Regions from separate parts of the Homo sapiens genome. Here all the other regions are linked to region 1. Evidence: promoter capture Hi-C in 16 types of primary human blood cells and fetal thymus (Javierre and others, 2016). All regions are on one chromosome and are shown on one strand. The core of a region is centred on a gene start or on the middle of the fragment in contact, and the rest is flanking DNA. Distances in the headings are between cores, read along the strand shown.

Region 1 (3,197 bases), core at 212-2,711:
TAGCTTCACTTCAGCAAAAGCTCCATAGGATCACCAAAGAATAACTGGTGTGACTACCGTTTTCTCACTGGTGGATTAGTTTTTGGCAAGATTTTTAATGTCTAAATTTAAGTTAAACTTCAGTTTAAAGAAATTAAGATTAACTTCATTTAGTCACAGCACACTTCCAAAACGGTCAAGCTTAGTACTGCTGAACAGCTGTAGTTGCATAAAAACAACGCATAGTCCTAAGTAGGGAAATGGGAAAGGGCTTTAAATACAAAAACAAAAAAAACATGCACACCCGATAAGGGCACATCTGAATCCCATCCTTCTTATCCTATCATAACACAAAACAGCTACGGTTTTCTGGGAAACATCCTGGACCGCTAGGGGAAAATAACACCAGACATTTCAATTCACTGTAACGAACTCTCATCAATAATAATAACCTTTAGCTGTTGTGACAACACGACATAAATCAAAATTAAATTGAATTTTTAAAATTGTTAGTTCCTACGTTTAAAAAAAAGTTGTTTTAAATACATTCTGTTCTTTCAAAACTGAATTTCCTCAGATCACACAATTTAAGACGCCTTTATGTCTTCTTCCGCTTGTCACACGTCTTTCGGGTTCTGACCAGCACATCAAGGGGACTCTAAGCAGGCCACGTGGTTAGTGTTTGCTAGAACTTGTTTAGCTTCAGATCCAGTCATCGAGCATGCTAGGCTTGGCTACTCGCGCTCCACACAGTTTATCCAAAGATCTAAACCCCGAATGAACCTGAATAGTTATTTGCTACAATGTCTTTCTCAAATCTCACATGTTCCTAAAATAAGGGTGCCCATGCAGTAGAGACGGATCCGGGCAGGATCATTAGATAAAATACGAAGGCTTTAAACGTCCTTCTCCCAACAATCAGCCTGGGACCGGCGTCGGGGCAGCAGCCTCACCAAGATTCGGAGCGACATCCTCGCCAGGATTCGAAACACCTAGGAGACCCGCGCCCGGCTGACTCCCAGCCCCTGGGACCCCGTGAAGACGCAAACCTCGGGACGCCTCCCGCAGAACCACCTGTCAGAGCCAAGCAACAGTCCCCGCCCCGGAGCCTCCGAGCTCCTGCTCGAAGGCAATGACAGCAGGAGACCCCGCTCCCTCGGGGTTCTCGCGGCCATAGGCGCCGCAGTCCACTGCCCTCCGGCTAAAGAGGTCCCGGGCCATCACCTGCCCGCCTACCGACCACGCCCGACCCTCCACTGAACTGAGTCTCCGTCCGGATCAGCCGGCCCGCCACGAACCCAGCTCCAGTCTCCGGCCGCTCCTTCTTATCCGCCCTGTCCTGCCGCGTCGCCGCCGTCCGAGCCGGCAGCCTGCTACTTACCTCCTGACAACTGCATGGAGTAAACCACACCGCCTTGTTAAATGCCGTCGCCGCCGCCGCCGTCTTCGTCACCGTCACAGTCGCCGCCGCCATCTTTGTTGTGTCTCCGACTCCCTTCCCGCCCCCCTGCCTTGCTCAAGTCTCGCGTGAGCAGGATGGAGGGCGAAAGCGAGGAGGGGCCTGTTTGTCTCTCTTGGGGTTCCGTAGGCAGCAGGGGGCAGGGATTAAGGGGGGGTGTGTGCGGGGCGGGTACTGAGTGGGCGGGGCCTTGCTCGGGTAACTCCCAGGGGCTGGCTAGAGACCCAGAGGCGCAGAGCGGAGAGGCCTGCGGCGAGGATGGAGGGCCTGGCAGTGCGGTTGCTGCGCGGCAGCAGGCTGGTGAGTGCGTTCGAGGCTGGCGTCCTGGGGGCCCAGGGCGACCTTGGCCCCTGGAATCGCAGCTGGCAGAGCCTTCTAACGGGCCTCGGGGCGCCGGCCTGAGCCCCGCTCCACGTCCTGGGTCCCCAGACTCTTTACCCGCGGGCAGTCTATGACCCCGACCCCCTTCAGGCCTCTGGTGGAGGCAGCTGGTGGCAAGGGGGTCGGGGCTGTCTAGAAGCTGCTTTGGCGGAGCAAGTACCTTGAGTGGAGTCGGAGGGTCGCGTCCGCAAGATGTCCTTTGCAGGCCGTTGCGTCCTGAGAGCCACCGAGTCTGGATCTCTGGATCTCTGGATGCATTTTGCACAGATGTCACCTCCCTGATGCCCTAACGCACCTTTCCCGAGTGATTACATTTCACACCCCCTCCCCCAAAAAAGATAGTTAAAATATAGGCCCAGTCTCATTCTGAGCAGGTGTCTCCCTGTCCTTCCTTCCGCGGCCCCGCTCAAAGGTAGTAAGGGACTTCGGAGTTGTTCGGGCTTCCCGGCCAGGGACAGAGTTCCCTCTGCCCCTTATCTCATGTCTGGAGCCTGGGTATCTTCCGTGGATAGACTCACCGCCGCCCAGGGGAGCCGGAGCCGGTGCCGGTCCCTCTTCCATGAACTTAAGCTGAAACCAGCCTCTTGTTGTGCTTAATTCTTATCTGTGCACCCACACAAACTGTTAACAGCCCCTGTGTTAACATCCTATGCTCTTCACCCCTTGGACCTATTATATAGCATGCTTTTCAGAACATACACATTTGGATACACTTGTATTTGTCAGTACACTTCACTGGGAATTTTCCCACTGCTTACGTGTGCTTTTAATGTTTCCTTTGCATTTGCTTTAATGAGTTAGGCTTTCCAACTGCTGCTTCAGTCTTATGCCCAGAGGCAGAACTCTGACCCTTTTTCTTATTAGAGATAATTAATGTTATTTGACTGTTTTACAGGCCTGAAGTGCAATAAAAAACAGTAAGTGATTATTGTTTAATACTGTTTATAATTGTTGGTTAATAACTTAGCAAAGAAAATTTCTTTGGTTTTACAATTTGACTCTGTTTTAGAGCCAAAATTTATTGACCGCATACTCTGTGGTAGGCACGTTCTCGTTCTACCTGAGTCATCTCAATTCTCACAACCATCTTAACAAGTAGTTTAATCTTGCAGATGCTGAAAAAGAATAATAGCTTGCCCACAGATAGAAAGGGATAGAGCTGGTGGTATTCGAACTCTGGTCTGATTCTAAACTTAACCTTCATATACTACTGTCTCCCCGTCCTTAGAGATATCAAAAACCTATTTTGTTTGAACTTTTGGTTTATTGTGGCTTATAGTCCTTTATAGTTTTTGAAGCTCTTTTACATAAATTAGCTAAATTGATTGAACATCGACTGTAGCATAGTGGTTAAGAACGTAGGTTCTGTAGCTAGGCT
Region 2 (3,197 bases), core at 470-2,969, 1.8 Mb after region 1:
TCTCCCCATTGCCAATATCACCTCATACTATAACGAATTCATATATTGTGCTGGTCCTTCCTAAAGGGATCCAGCAAGGATATTTACATTTGTTTACATGGGATATTTACTAAACCTATACAGCCTTCTGAGGGATAAGCCAAATACCCACTTCGGAGGAGATATCTGGGGAAGATGAAGGAGTCTTTATAGCTATAGACACGCCCACTCTCTTTGGATCAGCCTCCTTTTGATAAATAGAGGTCATAGTCCTTTCAGGTACACTTCAGGCAGATCACCAAACTGCATATCCTAATACTCTGAACAAAGCAAGGAACTTTTCATTTATTTATGCGGCAAACTTTTTTTTTTTTTTTGAGACGGAGTCTTGCTCTGTCGCCCAGGCTAGAGTGCAGTGGCACGATCTCGGCTCACTGCAAGCTCCGCCTCCCGGGTTCAGGCCATTCTCCTGCCTCAGCCTCCCGAGTAGCTGGGACTACAGGTGCCTGCAACCACGCCCGGCTAATTTTTTTGTATTTTTAGTAGAGACGGGTTTTCACCGTGTTAGCCAGGACGGTCTTGATCTCCTGACCTCGTGATCCGCCCACCTCAGCCTCCCAAACTGCTGGGATTACAGGCGTGAGCCACCGTGCCTGGCTATGCGGCAAACATTTATTGAAGAACTTTCATATGTGAGGCGTGTGCTGGGCAGTGAAGGAAATACCCAGAATCATCCCTGCCTCCTAGAGCTGCGGGGAGGATTAGACAGGCAGGAAGAAATACCAGACAGTGCGAGAAGAATTCTATAAGAAAGTAACAGAGAAAATCCCCGAACTGCCCAAAGTTGAGAGGAAAACTGCTAGTGGAGAAATCAGTAAAGATGTGTGTCAGGAGGTAAACTTAATGGGCAGTACATTCAGGGGAGCACAGAACGAGGTCTGCATAAAACACATAGCGAATCTGGCCTGTTCATATGACTAAAATACAGAATATGTGGAGATGAGTGGTTTGTGGTTTGAAATACTGTTGGCTAGCGGGGTGCAGTGGCTCATGCCTGTAATCCCAGCACTTTGGGAGGCCAAGTTGGGCGGATCGCCCGAGGTTGGGAGTTCAAGACCAGCCTGACCAACATGAAGAAACCCCGTCTCTACTAAAAATACAAAAATTAGCCGGGTGTGGTGGCACATGCCTGTAATCCCAGCTACTCGGGAGGCTGAGGCAGGAGAATCGCTTGAACCTGGGAGGCGGAGGTTGTGGTGAGCTGAGATTGTGCCATTCCACTCCAGCCTGGGCAACAAGAGCGAAACTCTGTCTCAAAAAAGAAAAAAGAAAAAGAAAAAAAGAAAAGAAAAATGAAGAAATACTGTTGGCAAGTGGCAACTTTGGTCATGTTGGGAGCAAATAATTAATTTCAAGCCTGTTCTGATAGGCTTCTAGTATGTGGGGTAGGGGACAAGGGTGTTTTATTTATTTATTTATTCATTTATTTTTGAGATGCAGTCTGGCTCTGTTGCCCAGGCTGGAGGGCAGTGGCGTCAGCTCACTGCAACCTCCGCATCCCGGGTTCAAGCGATTCTCCTGCCTCAGCCTCCCGAGTAGCTGGGATTACAGGTGCATGCCACCATGCCCGGCTAATTTTTGTATTTTTAGTAGAGACGGGGGTTTCTCCATGTTGGTCGGGCTAGTCTCGAACTCGTGGCCTCAGGTGATCCACCCGCTTTGGCCTCCCAAAGTGCTGGGATTACAGGTGTGAGCCACCACGCCTGGCCCCAAGGGTGTGTATTGAAGTTAGGTCAGGATTAAGGGGAATCAAGAGGCTGAACTACCTCCTAATGCAGGCTTGTCCAACCCACGGCCTGTAGGGTGCATGCAGCCCATGGCAGCTTTGAATGAGGCCCAACACAAATTGGTAAACTTTCTTCAAACATTATGAGATTTTTTTTTTTTTTTTTTGAGACCGAGTTTCACTCTTGTTTCCCAGGCTGGAGTGCAATGGCACGATCTTGGTTCACCACAACCTCCACCTCCCGGGTTCAAGCGATTCTCCTGCCTCAGCCTCCCTAGTAGCTGTGAATACAGGCATGCGCCACCATGCCCGGCTAATTTTTGTATTTTTAGTAGAGACGGGGTTTCTCCATGTTGGTCAGGCTGGTCTCGAACTCTCGACCTCAGGTGATCCGCCCACCTTGGCCTCCCAAAGTGCTGCGATTGCAGGCATGAGTCACCACGCCCAGCCATTATGATATTTTTTTGAAATTTTTTTTAAGCTCATCAGCTAGTGTTAGTATATTTTATGTGTGGACCAAGACAATTCTTCTTCCAATGTGGCCCAGGGAAGCCAAAAGATTGGATACTCCTGCCCTGGTGGATCAAAACTATAAAACCCACTCACCACATTATAGACTTATTTACTAAGTAAAGGTTTGAAACTGGGTGCAGTGGCTCATACCTGTAATCCCAACACTTCGGGAGGCCGAGGCAGGAGGATGGCTTGAGGCCGGGAGTTCAAGACCAGCCTGGGCAAGGTGGCGAGACCCTGTCTCTACAAGAAATTTTTATAATTAGCCAGGCGTGGTGTTGTGCTTCTGTAGTCCTAGCTACTCAGAAAGCGAGGTGGGAGGATTGCTTGAGCCCGAAAGTTTGAGGCTACAGTGAACCGTGATCATACCAGTTCACTCCAGGCTGAGCAACAGAGCAAGATCTCATCTTAAAAGAAAAAAGACTTGCGATGTGTAAGACGGTATAGTTAGTCTTTCGTCGAGGATGTTTTTGGTTTTTTTTTTTTGAGATGGAGTCTCCCTCTGTCACCAGGCTGGAGTGCAGTGGTGCAATCTCAGCTCACTGCAGCCTCCACCTCCTGGGTTCGAGTGATTGTCCTGCTTCAGCCTCCCGAGTAGGTGGAACTACAGGTGCACGCCACCACTCCCAGCTAATTTTTGTATTTTTAGTAGAGATGGGGTTTCACCATGTTGGCCAGGATGGTCTCGATCTCTTGACCTTGTGATCCATCCGCCTTGGCCTCCCAAAGTGCTGGGATTACAGGCGTGAGCGACCACGCTGGCCCATCTAGGGTGTTTTTATTTTTCTTTTCGTTTTGCTTAATTCTTTAAAACCCTAAAACAGCCGGGCGTGGTGGCTCACGCCTGTAATCCCAGCACTTTGGGAGGCCGAGGTGGGTGGATCACGAGGTCAGGAGATCGAGACCATCCTGGCTAACA
Region 3 (3,197 bases), core at 698-3,197, 1.5 Mb after region 1:
TTTGCTGGAGGGCTTGTCCTCTCCCTTTCCTTCTGGTCATGGTGGGACTATAGGCAAGTGTCCCACCTCCAGCCCTGGTAAGGGCACCAGTCAGGCTGGAACATCACAGTATCACTTCCATTGGAACACAGACAATGGGGGACACTGACCCAAGAGAGCCAATCAGAGTTCTTTCTGGAACAGCCAGACCAAGTTGAGGAAAAGGATCCTCACCAGGTGGTGTACCGGAGACTCTGTGAGCCCAGAGCTGATAACCAGCCATGCCTGACGCTGTCCATTGCTAGACTATCTGGTTGTGCGAGCCAATAAATTCCTTTAAATTGAAGCCATTTGAAATTTGGCTTCTGTCACTGGCAGCCGAAGAGTCCTGACTATGACAAGCAAATCTGAAAGGATGAGGCATATGTCTAGTATAGCAATAGATGGTTGATAGATTCATAGTTGAGCTGAAATTCAGACATGAGTTGTAGATTTGCTATAACAGGCTGAAAGCTCAGTCAGTGGTGTATGCTTCCTGGCACACTATGGTGTTCATGTGCCACCTGGCTAGCTCTGGCCCAAAAGATGCAAATGAGAGTCCATTGGATCAGGGTTCTGGGAAAGCTTTTGCTTTCTGGGTATAAAGGGTCAGACTCAGCTGTCACATGCCCTTTTTTCTTTTCTTTCCCCTCCTTCCTGCCTGAAATGCAGTCATGATGCCTCGGGTGGAGCAGGAATCTTGCTAGCGTGAGGAGCAGGCCACATGCTGAGAGAGTGGTGGAGCAGAAAGCAGGAGGCAGCCTGATGGTCCTGGGAGCTGTTGTCCCATCCAGGATTTCCTCCCTCTTGGCTTCTTGATATATGAGGAAAAGTAAAATCTGATTTGGTTGGGCAACTATGGCTGGGTTTCTGTTACATGTAGCCAAATGCAACCCTAACATAGACAATGCCCTACACTCATTGCATCCCAAGAAAAGCCTGGAATTTTCAGATCAAGTTTTAGCCTATCAGTGGCCCACACTTAGAGACTTGCCACATTTTTCAGGTGAGGGACCTGGATCCCTGTATTTGTTTCTTGTCACTACTGCAAGAAATTACCATATACTTAGTGGCTTAAAACAACAGATTTATTATTATAGTTCTGGAGGTAAGAAGTCCTAAACTTGAAGTACCAGCAGGGCTGCATTCCTTCTGGAGGCTCTAGGGGAGAATCCAATTCTTTGCCTTTTTTAGCTTCCAGAGGCCACCTGCATTTCTTGGCTCATGGCCCCTTTGTATTCAAGGCCAGTAGCACGGTATCTTCACACCTCTCTCTCTGACCTCTGCTTCTGCTGTCACACCTCCTTCTCTGACTCTGACTCTCTCCTGCTTCCCTCTTTCCCTTATGAGGACTCATGTCATTATACTGGGCCCACCTGGACCATCCAGGATAATCTCCCTACAGGAGCATAGGCTCTGCAAGATCTAAGTCCCTTTTGCCATGTCAGGTAATATATTTAGAGGTTGTGGGGATTGGGAGGTGGACATCTCAAGGGGGCACTATTCTGTCTACTGTAGTCGTAGAAATGAAAAGGGACTTGCCCAAGAGTACCCACAGAGCTGACTGAAAAGAAACAACTATGGGTAGGCTCACACCACTGGCAGAAGCACCCCTTTTCCTCCTCCTTGGCATGAAGCTAAAGCCCAGCCATTCTCCAAGGTCCATTTCAGGCTGCCCCTGCCCAGAAGCCACAGCTGCCCTCCTAGGCCTGCAGAGGTCATCCTCTTGACTGTGTCTGTGTCACTCATTGCCACTTGGCACACATTTGGTCAGCAGTCGTGAAGGTCTTCCATTGTTCTCTGCCCAGTCTTGATCCTGGAAGGCAAGGATCACACCCTAGAACTTTTTTGTGCCCACTGCACAGAGTAGGGTCTCAATACGTGTACGGTTCATGATGTTCCTAGCAGATTCTCCAAACTGACTCACTCAGCCCCTGGAACACTAAAAACTGCATTTCCCAGACTCCTTTGCAGCGTGGGCTAGGTTCCACCAAGCCAGACACAGTGAAAGTGAGTGGGTGGCCACAGGTGGAGGGCACAGTGGTGGATATGTTTTGTTCTTTTGGGGGCAGCTATGCTGGGGGCTGCACTAAGTGATGGGGCAGTGGTCCCAATGGAGTAGTAAAATTAAGTGTTTCTCGTGGCTGCATGGCTCCTGGCTGTGTAGGACTTAGACCCGTCATCTGTAAGCTCCTTCACCTCATGTAAACAAAACCCCTCTAGCTGGAGTGGTGTCTATTGTCTGCGACTAAGAACCCTTATATAAGGTATACTACTCCCCAACCCCATTAGTGGAAATCCCAAAGGGTAGGAACTGTATTTTATTTCACTTGTAAACAGCTCCCCTAGTAAGCATGTCAACAAAATATACACAATTCATTGAACCCCATAACATTTCAACGAATTCCTCATCCTTTCTGTGAATCAAGAGCCTGAAAAGAAATGGTGAAATAATATGATCCTCTCTTCTTTGAAAGCTCAAAGCTATGTTGGACCAGAAGTAAAGTGTTCTCGTTTCTATTTAATAACTTGAAAGGTTCCGAGGGGCCATTGAGGAAACTCCTCCCTTTTAATATCAATGTGTATTTATTGCAAAAATAATGTAGCATCGAGTGGTATTTTATAGCTTATCCAAAAACCTCCTGGGTTTAACGCATTGTGATAGTCCCGTTTTCTTCTCAGCCCAGGTCCTATGCATCCTCATCTATGCAGGGCTGTTATCTGCATATAATTTTTTTTTTTTTTAAGACAAAGTCTTGCTCTGTCGCCCCGGCTGGAGTGCAGTGGTGCAATCTCGGCTCACTGCAACCTCCGCCTCCCAGGTTCAAGCGGTTCTTCCGCCTCAGCCTACCGAGTAGCTGGGACTACAGGCATGCGCCACCACACCTAGGTGATTTTTGTATTTTTAGTAGAGACAGGGGTTTCACCATGTTGACCAGGCTGGTCTCGAACTCCTGATCTCAAGCGATCCACCCGCCTCAGCCTCCCAAAGTGCTGGGATTACAGGCATAAGCCACTACGCCCGGCCTCAATTTTGTATTGTACTTTTTCTTTCTTTCTTTAATAGAGACAGGGTCTCACTATGTTGACTAGGTTGGTCTAGAACTCCTGGGCACAAGCTGTCCGCCCGCTTCTGCCTCCCAAAGTGCTGGGATTGCAGGCGTGAACCACCGCCCCTG
Region 4 (3,197 bases), core at 388-2,887, 1.4 Mb after region 1:
TAGCTGGGCATGGTGGCAGGCACCTGTAACCCCAGCTACTTGGGGGGCTGAGGCAGGAGAATCGCTTGAACCTGAGAGGCGGAGGTTGCAGTGAGCCGAGATCGTGCCATTGCACTCCAGTCTGGGGGACAAAAGCAAGACTTCATTTCAAAAAAAAAAAAAAAAAGAAAAATAATATGTTTTCTTTCTTATGAACATAGGCATTAGAGATGCAAATACAGAATAGATTTTAGAGATAAAGAGACACTTTAAAACCTAATCTAGGCCAGGCTCGGTGGCTAATGCCTGTAATCCCAGCACTTTGGGAGGCCAAGGCAGGCGAATCACCTGAGGTCAGGAGTTCAAGACCAGCCTGGCCAACATGGTGAAACCCCATCTCTAAAAAAATGTAGCTGGGCATGATGGCAAATGCCTGTAATCCCAGCTATTTGGGAGGCTGAGGCAGGAGAATCGCTTGAATCCAGGAGGCAGAGATTGCCAAGAGCCAAGATCGCACCATTGCACTTCAACCTGGGTGACAGAGTGAGACTCTGTAAAAAAAAAAAAAAAAAAAAAAACTAATCTAACTCTTTTAAAGGCAGAGAAATCCAATCCAAGATTCCAAGGTAAAGGGCCCCCACCTGTCTTACGAAATGGGTCACAGGGACAGCCAAGAAACTGTGTGTTCTACCAATCATGTTCCACATTTGAGACATTTAATCAGAAGTAAGAATTTTGACTAAGAACAAAAAAGGCTGAAATAAAAGTTTTTAATAAAAATTTAAGGAATGAGCAGCAGTATTTATTTAAAGAATATTACATTGCTCGTTAATTTTAAAAAATAAGATAAACCTCAATTACTAGTTAAACATTTACTTTATATCCTTATCTATTTAGGTACTAAGAAGATCAGTGTGTTTTGCAATGATTTTTTTTATTGATTCCATGATGGCAAACTTAGATAACTTTGATTACTTTTCTTTTGAGGACTTTAATTCTGACTCTTTGAAGTTGGACTATAATAAAAACAAACCAGAAAAGAAGAAATTTCCACAGTTTATTCCTGAAATTGTTGACCTAAGTAAATGTATGGAATAAATATATGAAATGCTATGAAATAAATATATTAATACAATGGGTATTGTAAATCATTTCATCTTTGCTGAAAACATTTAATATTTTTTGCACAGAACTTTGCAGAGAGTTTCACCGTTTGGGACAATCGAGTTCACCAAAAGCAATGCCAGTCCTGGTATTTGGGTCATCAATACGCTCTGTCTTTGTGGCTGTCACATCCTTAATCGTGGTATAGGAAGCTGGGCACAGTGGCTTACATCTGTAATCCCAGCACTTTGGGAGGCCAAGGTGGGTGGATAATTTGAAGTCGGGAGTTCAAGACCAGCCTTGCCAACATGGTGAAACCCCGTCTCTACTAAAAATACAAAATTAGCTGGGTGGTAGTGGTGTGCGCCTGTAATCCCAGGAGGCTGAGGCAGGAGAATCATTTGAGCCTGGGAGGCAGAGGTTGCGGTGAGCCGAGATGGTGCCACTGCGCTCCAGTCTGGGCGACAGAGTGAGACCCTATTAAAAAAAAAAAAAGTCATATAGAATCCTTCCTTTCTCTCTTTTTTCTTTTGTTCTCTTTTTTTATTTTTGGAGTTGGGGGACAGAGTCTCGCTCTGTCACCAGGCTGGAGTGCAGTGGCACGATCTCGGCTCACTGCAACCTCCACCTCCTGGGTTCCAACAATTCTCCTGCCTCAGCCTCCCAAGTAGCTGGGACTACTGGGACTAGAGGCGGGCGCCACCATGCCTGGCTAATTTTTGTATTTTTTAGTAGACACGGGGTTTCACCATATTGGCCAGGCTGGTCTCAAATTCCTGACCTAATGATCTGCCCTCCTTGGCCTCCCAAAGTGCTGGGATTATAGGCGTGAGCCACCGCACCCGGCCAGGATCCTTTCCTTTAACCTGTATTCTCCCCCAAAAGATTTTAGTTACAGGCTGGACGCGGTGGCTCACCCACCTGGCACTTTAGAAGATCGGGGCGGGCAGATCACTAGAGGTCAGGAGTTCGAGACCAGCCTGGCCAACATGGTGAAACCCCTAAAAATACAAAAAATCAGTTGGGCGCAGTGGTATGTGCCTGCAATTGCAGCTACTCGGGAGGCTGAGGCACGAGAATCGCTTGAACCCAGGAGGTGGAGGTGGAGGTTGAAGTGAGCCGAGATCGTATCACAAAAAAAAAAATTAAAAAAAAATTCTTGGAGATCCTTAAGTTATATTCTTCTCCACCACCTTAAGTTTGACTTAGTCCTTTGATCATACAAATTACCTCTTTTGTTTTTGTTTTGTTTTGTTTTTGAGACAGGGTCTCGCTATGTCACCTGGGCTGGAGTGCAGTGGCACAATCACAGCTCTCCACAGCCTCAAACTCCTGGGCTCAAGCAATCCTCCTGCCTCAGCCTCCTAGGCAGCTGGGACCACAGGTGTGTGCCACCATGCCAAGCTATTTTTTTTTTTTTTTGTAGACATAACGGGGGCGGTCTCACTATGTTGCCCAGGCTGGTTTCGAACTCCTCTTGAGCTCAAGTGATCCTCCCACTCAGCCTCTTAAAGTGCTGAGATTACAGGTGTGAGCCACCATGCCTGGCCTCTCTCCACTTTTAATTCAATTTTGAACTGTTTCGGCAGGGCTCCTAATTTGCAAAGGGCAGTGCACAGCCTTTTGATTCCAAAGAAAATTAAGGCAATTAAATACATTTCAGCTCTGGCCCTCTGAGGCACATGCCGGTGTCAGTCTTGACTGTGGCCAATGCTCTAAGGAACATGTTAGCCAGACCCCAGAGCACCCAGCGTTCATACTACAGAGTGCTTGAGAGAGCAGGCTTTGGATTGAGGCAATCCAGAAGTCAAATCCTGACTCTATCGATAATCAGTTAGGTAACCTGAGACCCCAAGCCTCACTTATCCCATCCTGTAAAAGGGGTTGTTCTAAGGATCACTGACACATGTGACGCTTCTCCAGCTACTTCTAAGCCACCTGGCGGCTCAGTACAAGGTAGTGTAATTATCTTTATTTACAATGATAAGTGAAGGCCCTTCTCCAAGTCCTCTAGCTTTGAATCTTCCCTCTTCTACAGAGATTCTTATTGAAATCTAAAGAAATCAAGTACACATACTTAGAAGGCTTTTTAAAAGTGTCTATTTAAAAGGCAA
Region 5 (3,197 bases), core at 1-2,500, 1.4 Mb after region 1:
TACTAAGCATCCTTTTCCCCAGAGTCTCGCTGTCACCCAGGCTTGAGTGCAGTGGCGTGATCTCAGCTCACTGCAATCTCTGCCTCCTGGACTCAAGCAATTCTCCTGCCTCAGCCTCCCAAGTAGCTAGGATTACAGGTGCCCACCACCACACCACACATGTTATTTATTTATTTATTTATTTTGTAGTTTTAGTAGAGATATAGTTTCACCATGTTGGCCAGGCTGGTCTCGAACTCATGACCTCAGGTGATCTGCCTGCCTCGGCCTCCCAAAGTGCTGGGATTGCAGGCATAAGCCACCACACCCGGCCAAGAAACTGATACTTAATGACTTCAACGAAAGAGTTTACATCTGCCAACCTAACTACCAGTAACAACCTAATGACTTAGTCATACCCTAAAACATTACAAATACTTTAGGTACACTTCAATGGCACAAAACAATATAATTTTGCAACTAAAAGAGAAAAGCTATTTCTGCAATGATATAATTTCACAATCACTTCCAACGTCGAGATGAAATGCTTTGTTTAAATGCTTAAAAAACAAAGCTGAGCATTCTTTTTAGCAAAAGTTTTGTCTATTCAGCAAAAACATCTATACTTCAGAGACCTCTGATGTAGTAACAATTACTGGCTCTGAAAGGCAAACCCAAGACATGAACTACAACAAACATTAATTTTTCTCAGTCTCTTTGTTCACCAGTCATGGTTTTAAACAATTAGTAATATGCCATGTTTCTGAACACTGGAAAAAAGGACAGGAGTCTACAGGAGTCCTTTGGGGGTAAACTGTTTCCACCCAAATCCAATGTCATAGCAAATTCCAAGGCACACTCAATTCTTCAGGCAATAAGTAAGTGGGTCACACACTGGTCCCTTAAATGTTTTTATTACAGATATTCCGGGTGGCCTGCAGCACACTTGGTAAAATCAAACAATCTGAAAGCATTGTTGTCACAATCAGTTGATGTATAAATACTTTAGGGGTATATTTTACAAGAGTAGGAAATGGAAAGAGGGGGAACATGAAACTTACAGGGTATAAGCCCCCAGAAAGGGCCTTTCCAAGGAGGACTATATCAGGTCTGACATTTTCATAATCAACAGCCAGCCATCTACCAGTTCTGGCCAATCCTGTCTGTATTTCATCAGCAATAAAGAGAACCTATTGGGGAAAAAAAATACCCCTATTAGTGATCACTTTCGTTTCCACAGGGAAAATAGCCATCCTTATTTCACTGTCCCCCCACCAACAATAAATGTGTAATTCTGATGTGCCCTCAAATTTGTAAAAATGTTTTAACTGCACACAATTTCAAGAGTATCCTATAAGAATCTTGTAGACTCACCAACTATTTCCTTTGTCAGGCCACTATCTCCCTAGAGGCCCATTCTGCCCTGCTCTACATAGTGAAAAGGTGCTGATGCAAAGGTGAGGGTTTTGTATGGCTTTTCTGGACCTAACTACCCTCTGGGAACAAATTAATTCATTTGTTTATTCCACAAGCATTTAATATGTGACAGAAACTCTCAAATGGTAAACAAAATATACTACTATTAGCCCTGGGGGAAAGGAGGAGAGAATACAACAAAGGGCTTGCGGGGGCTCAGAGTGAAAGGCTCTTAGAGCAGCGAGGAAGGAAACGCTGTTAAGACCAGGTCTGCAGTTCTGCACAGGGCCCAGGACAAGGCCAGAGACAGGAAAAAGTCTGCTTCTGTGCAGGTTTCTAAGCACTAGGAAGTACTTAAGCTCTTAGAATGCCATCGCCCTCTAGTGGAAAGTAATTTAATCTTTGCATTTATCCAATCAGCAGAATTCAGAGAGGAGTTGGGGAGGAGCCCATTCAGCCTCATCACAAACAGCTAACTCGACATTCAGCCTTATCACAAACAGCTAACGTGACAACCTGGTGCCTGGTGCAGAGCTCTCGCACTCCCATTAGGTAACCTGGATCCGGAACAACAACGCCTGCTTCACCCTGAATTGGTTCTACCATGAACGCAGCCACATTTGGATCCTGAAGAGCACGCTACAGAAGAAACAGGAATAAGTTTTAATAACTTCCTTTCTACCACACTTGGAAATCTGAAAGCATATACCACACATATTTTACATTAAGTATGCAAATCAAGTTTTCGCACTAACGTAAATTCTGACTTCAAATTCACTGCCATTCAATTATCAGAAGCTCCAAATACCTCACCTTTAAGTTACACTAGCCTACATTTCCTTTTTTGCCTCATTCTGTTGCCCAGGCTGGAGTATAGCAGCACAAACATGGCCCACTAAAGTCTCGAACTCCTGGGCTCAAGGTGATCCTCCTGCCTCAGCCTGCCAAGTAGCTGCGCACCATGCCCAGCTAATTTTTTATTTATTTTCATTTTTTTTTTTTTGGAGATGGAGTCTCACTCTGTCACCCAGGCTGGAGTGCAGTGGCACGATCTTGGCTTACTGCAGCCTCTGCCTCCTGGGTTCCAGCAATTCTCCTGCCTCAGCCTCCCAAGTAGCTGGGATTACAGGCGCACAGCACCACGCCCAGCTAATTTTTTTTTGTATTTTTAGTAGAGACAGGGTTTCACCACTGTCTCTGGTTTCACTGTTGGCCAGGCTGGTCTCGACTCCTGACCTCAAGCAATCTGCCTGCCTCGGCCTCCCAAAGTGCTGCGATTACAGGCGTGAGTCACCGCGCCTGACCTTGATTTTTAAATTTTTTTGTAGAGACAGGCTCTCCCTATGCTGCCCAGGCTGGTCTTGAACTCCTGAACACAAAGTGCTCCTCCAGCCCTGGCCTCCCAAAGCACTGGGATTACAGGCATGTACCACCATGCCCAGCCTGTTTTCTAATACACAAATGTACCTAAATTAAATCTGGCTGGGCACAGTGGCTCATGCCTGTCACCCCAGCACCTTGGGAGGCCAAGGTGGGCAGATCACTTGAGGTCAAGTGTTCGAGACCAGCCTGGCCAACGTGGCGAAACCATGTCTCTAAAGAAAATAGAAAAGTTAGTTGGGTGTGGTGGTGTGTGCCTGTGGTTCCAGCTACTTGGGAGGCTGAGGCAGGAGGATCACTTGAACCCAGGAAGCGGAGTTTGCAGTGAGACGAGATTGTGCCACTGCGCTCCAGCCTAGGTGACAGAGTGAGACTCTGTCTCAAAAAAAGAAATTAATTACTTAAATTAAATCTAAAGTAAA
Region 6 (3,197 bases), core at 304-2,803, 1.2 Mb after region 1:
AGTCGTCAGTAACCACTCTCTTCTGTTGGGTTTTTAAAGACCATCCCCACCCAAATTCCTTCCTGCTGGCCCACCCTCAGGTCTGTGGATTTTCACACTGGCTGGAGGCCCTAAAGACCCTCCACTCCACCCTAGTATTGCCCAGCGCCATCCCCTTTTCACCCTGAGATGTCTTTATTAAGGAAGGAAGAGACGGGATGCCCACCACCATTGATGGATCGCGTGTTGTGTGCCCAGCACCGACTTGGCCCTGGCCGTGTAGTTATTTCCAAGGATTGTCACACCACCCTGGGAGGGACAGAGGTGCTGTTGGTCTGGGTCTGTTGGACCCCAAGCCTATCCCCATCTTTACACAGAACTCAATGTCTACCCAGAACTTGACAGTTACACAGACCTCGATGGCTCTTCTCCAAATGCACTTTGGTCTCTTGAGTCTAACAAGAAGCTTCCCCTCCCTGCTAAACCAGCTTCCTGCCCCGAGCTAGAAATAGGTGGGAGCAGAATAGCTGAGTTGCCAGGAGCAGCCTGTTCCTAAGGGGCCATGGTTGGAAAAGTCACACGACCAGAGCTTCTCTCCTGCTCCGACTTCCTCCAGGTCCTTCCTGCCTTCCTTCCCACGCCAGGAACACAGCATCCACAATTAAACTGCCAGAAATAGACCGGCTTGGACCAGGGTGACAAGACGTGCTTCAAGCCTTCTGAACCCCTGCACAGCCTGGCTCACCCACAGGGAACTAAGACGACTAATTATGGTCAGCTCAGACAAAAGGCAGAGGATGAGATGAGCCAGGCGCTTGGCCAGAAATGAGTTTCTGTCCCCGATATCTCTCCCATCCCTGCTTCCCCTCCAGACATGCTGGCACTCTGTGTCTTTGCACCAGGTCCACCTCAGCGCCCCAGGCTTCCCGTGGCTTCAGCAGTACTGAGAGTCAGAGTCTGGCTGCCCAATACCTGAGCCGTTCTGTGCTCCCTTGAAGCCCCTGTTTACAGCATCCCACCACGGGACCTGCCGATCCTGGTAGCACACACCACGACGCTCCCTCCGGAGGGACCGGCCCAGGTCAGACAGTTGGAAAGAGACTCCAGCGATGAGGCTGGAGAGGTGAACAGGGGCTGGCCACTGAGACCCTGTCACACCAGCCAAAGCTGATGGCCCAAACCACGCAACGTGTGCTTCTGAAAGACTTCCCTGGCTGCAGAGGGGAGGGGTTTGGGGTGGAAGGTGAGAGGCAGGGGCCAAGCCGGAGGCTGCATGGGGTGTGGCAGGGCCATGCTGGGCTCCCACGGCCACTCTGGACAGCCTAGGTGTCAGTCACAGGAGAGGCCCCCCGCTCCAGGCACGCTCCCCCAGCCCTCTGTCCACCAGGCCTTTCCGCAGCCCTGGGTGGGTGGCAGCCACAAGGCAGGTGGCCCTGCCTACTGCAGCGCTCCTGAGGCAGGCCCACTGCCAGGCCCATTTGCGGGGGGCCCAGCACCCCCAAAGCCAAGCACTTAGCTCTGGGGGACCTGGAGCTATGGAAGCACAGTGACAGAGTGGGTGGGGGCAAGAGGAGAGGGATAGGAAAGAGTAGTGTACAGGGAGACCCATACCCTATAAATGACAGAGGCAGCACACGGGCAGGTGTTGGGACTTCTTGCAGTTTCTCCACGGTGTATCTTGTTACCCGGCCGTGGGTGACCTGTGCAGTCACACGGGACCTCACTCAGAAGGGCTGTGTTCTTGGTTTCATACTCCCCTGTTGTCATCTTGCAATTCTTAATAATTTTATATTCAAACTTGCATTTTGTAAGTGAAGTCCAGATGGGTCAAGCACATGTGGGAGCAGAGGAGGCACGTTTGAGATGCGTGTCGGCCTCAGTTTCTGCTGTCTCAGGCTCACCACGGGGCTTCCACAACACATGCACCTTGCACGTGGGGCCCTGGGCTCAGGAGGGGCCCAGGCTTGGTTTACTATTCTGCTGTCACCATCTTGAAATTCTTAATTTCGTCTTTGAACTTGTGTCCTCTGTTCCTTGTCACTCGGTAAGCATCAAATTCTGGTGAGCCCAGGACGGGAGTTCAGTGAGACTTGCCCTGAACACAAGGACACGCTGCGTGAGCAGGACATTGACGGACCCAAGAGGCCACACTTTCCCTTCAAACCAGAAAGCGCTTCCATCTTAGAAGAAAAACAGTGGCGTTCTTAGAAACGCGAATAACCGAGGAGACTTTATCTTATCCTTTCATACTGTCGCTTCCCCACGTTAGCCAACCACTCAGGCTGAAAATGACAACTCAGAGGGAAGGGAAAGGCAGGGCAGCCCTAGTTTCTTCCCTTCAATTCTTCCTCACTCGTCAGTGAGGCGAAGGCAGTGAGTGTTGGCAGAATGTGATTATATCAAACAGCAAAATAAAAACAGTTGAGGGTCTCCACTATCCTGGTAAGAATGAAATACACGTGAATGCAAGAAATACAGAATGCAAGTTGTGCCATTTCAGGGACTCTGTGTATGAGTTAAATGCTCTTACATTTCTATTCAAAACTGACATTATGCAATGTAAAGAATGAATGGTAAAATTCATGCTAACAATTTAAATTTTTAATTTTCTTTATTTAGAACATCATTAAATAGCAAATTTAAAATACCACGATAAGTCTAGAAAGAGACCGGAAGAAAGGAAAAGCTTTATATTTTAGTATCTTCAGAGGCACTTTTTTCCTGCTTTGCACTGAGCTCTGCAAATTATCTACCGTTTCTGCCTGGCCAACTCCTATTCATCCTTCAAGGCTCTACTTAGATGCCACCTCCTCCAGGAAGGCCACCCTAACCCCAATGAAGCATTAAATGCCCTTCCTGCATGCTTCCATAATCAATAACACTATCCTCACCCCTGTGCTGAAATTGTCAATCTGGTCAGCTTTGCGGCTGGACATGATTGCCAGATTTACAGCCGTACAGAGGGCTCTCTCCCTGTCCTCAGAGCTAGCCAGGGCCTCGCACATAACAGGTGCCCCTTTCCTGTTTGCTGAATGAACAAATGGACCAATAAAAATAAAGTGCCATATGCCAGACACCATTCTCAGCATTTTGCCCACACAACCGATGAAATGAACAGATGATGGCATCAGAATTTCTGAGAGGCCACCCCTTAGGTCAGCACTGCCCTGCACAGCAAGCTTTCCCATGTGAACGTGTGTGGTTCAACACACCTTGGG
Region 7 (3,197 bases), core at 425-2,924, 1.1 Mb before region 1:
CCCAGTCTTTTAGACGTTGAGTCAGCTGGGCCTAAGTGCACTCAATAAAGTTTCTCCTGTTTTAACCCGAGGTCTCTCTTGTCCTCCTGAATCCCACAACATGAGAACGTGAACCTACCAAGTAATTTATAGGAGCCTGTAGCATTGCTTGAACACAAGCACTGTGTCAAGCAATACACCAGAATGCAGAAAATTCTAAGCTAAGTCCTATAATATTTAATATCCAAAAGTAATGTGAATATTTACCAACATTTTCCCAATATTTCATGGCATTCATTGACAAGATTGCTAAATTAAGAGGGTATTTTTTTCACATATTTATATCTGAACCAATCAAACAATATTACTAAAACCTACTGATCAGCACATAAATACAGCATCAGTATGAAGAAAAGACATAACTCATTTACTTTTCCTTTTAAAGGACATCTACCTAGAGCGGAAATAAACATTAAAAAAGCACAAGAGACTACTAAAATATTATACACAATCTTCATACTATAAATCCTCTTTCTACTAATTAAAATTCTTACCTTATTGTGTACTGAGGACAACATGTTTGATTCATGACAGGTTTGTACACATATTTTCCACTTCTAAAATTATAAAAATAGTTTGTTAATGTCTTATATATTTTTCACTTGCACCAAAACAGCCTAGCACAGGAGCATTAAATTAAGGTTAAAAATCTAATCAACATTGTAGAAATGCATGTAGGTTTAATTACTCTTCATAAGCCAAATAATCTTCAAAGTGCGTGTAGCAAAGTTTAGAACCCTGCCTTTTATTTCCTAAAGCTTTACTTGTGTACCCCACGGCCAATCATCTCAGTTCCCCTCTCACCAGCATCTGCCACCCCTGCTCTGCCTTCACCTGCCACCAATCCCCAATACCACAAGGGCAATGAGAGAAATGCCCACGATGCTGTGGGACTCATGTATGTGATGCCTGTGACAACCACACTTGGGTATTCCACATGCACCAGCACGGAGTACCCCAAAACTAACCCGCTTCTTTCCATGCATTCCAGGTCTATGGTACTAACAGAACTGTTCATTCTGTTCTCAAGTCAGAGACCTGGGAGTCATTTTAAACTCCTCCCTGGAATTCACCTCTATATCCTATTAGCAAGCTTTCCTTCATTTTAAACCCTATCCTAAATTGTCCCCTCTTCTCTATCACCATTGCCACTAAGGTGACAGTCCTCATCATCGCACATCTGGATAGCGCAATAACCTTTGAACTCATCTTCCTGCCTCTATGACCCCCCCTCAAATACCTCTCAGCCATCTGAACAATCTTTTCTAAAACAAATTCCTTCACATTTCTCTCTTACCATAAAATCCTTCCATGACTGCCTTCTAAAAAGTTCTGGCCAGGCATGGTGGTTCATACCTATAATCCCAACACTTTGAAAAGCTAAGCTGGAAGAACACTTGCAACCAGATGTTCGAGACCAGCACGGGCAACATAGCCAAGATCTTACAAAAAACTGAAAAATTAGCCAGGTGTTGTGATGCACACCTGTAGTCCTAGCCACTGCAGAGGCTGAGGCAAGAGGATCACTTGAGTGTGGGAATTTGGGGTTACAGTGAGCTATGATGATGGCACTGTACTCTAGCCTGGGCAAGAGAGCGACTCTAGCCTGGGCAACAGAGCGAGACCATGTCTCTAAAAAAAAAAGTTCCTTATCATGGCATGTGAAGTCCTTTAAAATCTGACCTATGTCTACCTTTTGAATCTCATTAAGTTTAAGGAAAGTTGTGATATTTCAGCTGGTGCTCCCAATCCCACGTCTTTGGCAAGTATTAGCGTACAGTATTTAATATTACTTATATTTACACAAGGAACTTTACCTAAGAGTTACTTAAAAATCATCCACATAAAAATAACTACTCAAAACAGGCCATGTGTGGACTTTAAGGAAATCCTTATCCAAATAAACTGTTAAAGAAGACATTTTTGAGACAATCTGGAAAATCTAATAAAAAGTAGGTAACAGGTAACATCAAAGAATTTTTATTAATTTTGTAAGGTGTGATACAGCATTGTGGATAAGTTAAAAAGAAAAAAAGACCTCTCTCTTAGAGATACATACTTATTGCCTATCTATTGATAGGATAAATGTCATAATAACCTACTGATGTAATTTGCTGTTAAATATTAAAAGGTGGAGCAGGAGAATCAAACATGATTGGCAGAACGTTAATAACTGCTGAAGCTTAGTGATAGGTACTTGAGGTTCATTCTAATGTACTCTCTGCTTTTATAGATATTTGACATTTTCCTAACAAAGTTTTTTAAAAAGGAGACAAAAAATCACTACATAAAAGAATATAATAAAAATTTTTCTTAAACCTCTTTCCAACAGGAAAGCATTTCAAAGGCATGCTGTATTTTTCAAGAACCTGAGTAACAGTAGGAAGTCTCTTTGTATCTGGAAGCTTTACCTTCGCCATCCTCGGTCTATGAGATCCTGATAATCCTGTACTGTCATGGAATGTGCCCACATGCCTGAAAAAATAAGTAGTGTGTTAATTACGGCAGGGTAACCTTTTTTCTTTTTTAAATTCAAAGTGTGAGGTTTAAAAATAGGAGTGTGTGTCCGGGCACGGTGGCTCATGCCTGTAATCCCAGCACTCTGGGAGGCCAAGGCGGGCAAATCACAAGGTCAGGAGTTCAAGACCAGCCTGGCCAACATGGTGAAACCCCATCTCTACTAAAAATACAAAAATTTAGCTGGGCATAGTGGCGGGCGCCTGTAATCCCAGCTACTCAAGAGGCTGCAGCAGGAGAATCACATGAACTCGGGAGGCGGAGGTTGCAGTGAGCCAAGATCACGCCACTGCACTCCAGCCCTGGCGACAGAGTGAGACTCCATCTCAAAAAAAAAAAAAAAAATAGGAGTGTTTAGGTTAAAATTCCAAAACACTCATATTGGATAAATGAAAAGTTTGTACATACTTCACAGCTGTTAGTTGGGCATACACACAGCACAAATAAAGAATGACACTATATATATTTTCATTCAAAAAAACACATCGAAGTTAATTATATTTATTTGAGGATTAGTCAATAGTCTCTATGACAGCATAAATTTAAGTCCTCACTGCAATCAGACTGCATCAGACCTTCAAACTTTAATAAATATCCCCAATGATTTAACATGCTGGTCTCTTCAGAAAACTTAGCAAAAT

The links. Contacts are between HindIII fragments. The CHiCAGO score rates a contact against its expected background, and 5 or more counts as called.
Region 2: a contact is called between a fragment that was not itself captured here and the fragment with the promoter of IKZF5 in region 1, in 1 of 17 cell types (total B cells). The highest score is 5.4, in total B cells.
Region 3: a contact is called between a fragment that was not itself captured here and the fragment with the promoter of IKZF5 in region 1, in 8 of 17 cell types (fetal thymus, total CD4 T cells, activated CD4 T cells and 5 more). The highest score is 11.8, in fetal thymus.
Region 4: a fragment that was not itself captured here is called in contact with the fragment with the promoter of IKZF5 in region 1 in 2 of 17 cell types (fetal thymus and naive CD4 T cells); the score reaches 6.1 in fetal thymus.
Region 5: a fragment that was not itself captured here is called in contact with the fragment with the promoter of IKZF5 in region 1 in 1 of 17 cell types (naive CD4 T cells); the score reaches 5.5 in naive CD4 T cells.
Region 6: a fragment that was not itself captured here is called in contact with the fragment with the promoter of IKZF5 in region 1 in 1 of 17 cell types (fetal thymus); the score reaches 5.1 in fetal thymus.
Region 7: a contact is called between a fragment that was not itself captured here and the fragment with the promoter of IKZF5 in region 1, in 3 of 17 cell types (total CD8 T cells, non-activated CD4 T cells and naive CD4 T cells). The highest score is 6.8, in total CD8 T cells.

The regions. Positions count from the first base shown.
Region 1 is chr10:123,007,334-123,010,530 of GRCh38, forward strand. It overlaps IKZF5 (IKAROS family zinc finger 5), which reads right to left and starts at 1,462. Exons shown (of 5, transcript NM_001372123.1): 1 at 1,361-1,462. It overlaps ACADSB (acyl-CoA dehydrogenase short/branched chain), which reads left to right and starts at 1,673. Exons shown (of 11, transcript NM_001609.4): 1 at 1,673-1,738. The coding sequence starts at 1,697. RefSeq lists enhancers at 739-968, 1,249-1,578. The HindIII fragment of the contact is 4,856 bases long and covers 179-3,197 here.
Region 2 is chr10:124,807,838-124,811,034 of GRCh38, forward strand. The region is part of intron 2 of ABRAXAS2 (abraxas 2, BRISC complex subunit); the gene reads left to right. Among named protein-coding and RNA genes, the nearest start is that of ABRAXAS2, 7.6 kb to the left of the region's middle. The HindIII fragment of the contact is 5,680 bases long and covers 1-3,197 here.
Region 3 is chr10:124,458,375-124,461,571 of GRCh38, forward strand. No RefSeq gene overlaps it. Among named protein-coding and RNA genes, the nearest start is that of LHPP, 1.8 kb to the right of the region's middle. The HindIII fragment of the contact is 2,693 bases long and covers 602-3,197 here.
Region 4 is chr10:124,424,846-124,428,042 of GRCh38, forward strand. No RefSeq gene overlaps it. Among named protein-coding and RNA genes, the nearest start is that of OAT, 7.5 kb to the left of the region's middle. The HindIII fragment of the contact is 4,361 bases long and covers 1-3,197 here.
Region 5 is chr10:124,401,887-124,405,083 of GRCh38, forward strand. It overlaps OAT (ornithine aminotransferase), which reads right to left. Exons shown (of 10, transcript NM_000274.4): 6 at 1,912-2,034; 7 at 1,041-1,169. Among named protein-coding and RNA genes, the nearest start is that of OAT, 15 kb to the right of the region's middle. RefSeq lists enhancers at 1,574-2,117, 1,654-1,948 and a silencer at 1,654-1,948. The HindIII fragment of the contact is 9,199 bases long and covers 1-3,197 here.
Region 6 is chr10:124,232,657-124,235,853 of GRCh38, forward strand. No RefSeq gene overlaps it. Among named protein-coding and RNA genes, the nearest start is that of CHST15, 140 kb to the left of the region's middle. The HindIII fragment of the contact is 2,220 bases long and covers 444-2,663 here.
Region 7 is chr10:121,921,816-121,925,012 of GRCh38, forward strand. It overlaps ATE1 (arginyltransferase 1), which reads right to left. Exons shown (of 12, transcript NM_001001976.3): 2 at 2,451-2,514; 3 at 534-596. Among named protein-coding and RNA genes, the nearest start is that of ATE1, 4.6 kb to the right of the region's middle. The HindIII fragment of the contact is 1,089 bases long and covers 1,131-2,219 here.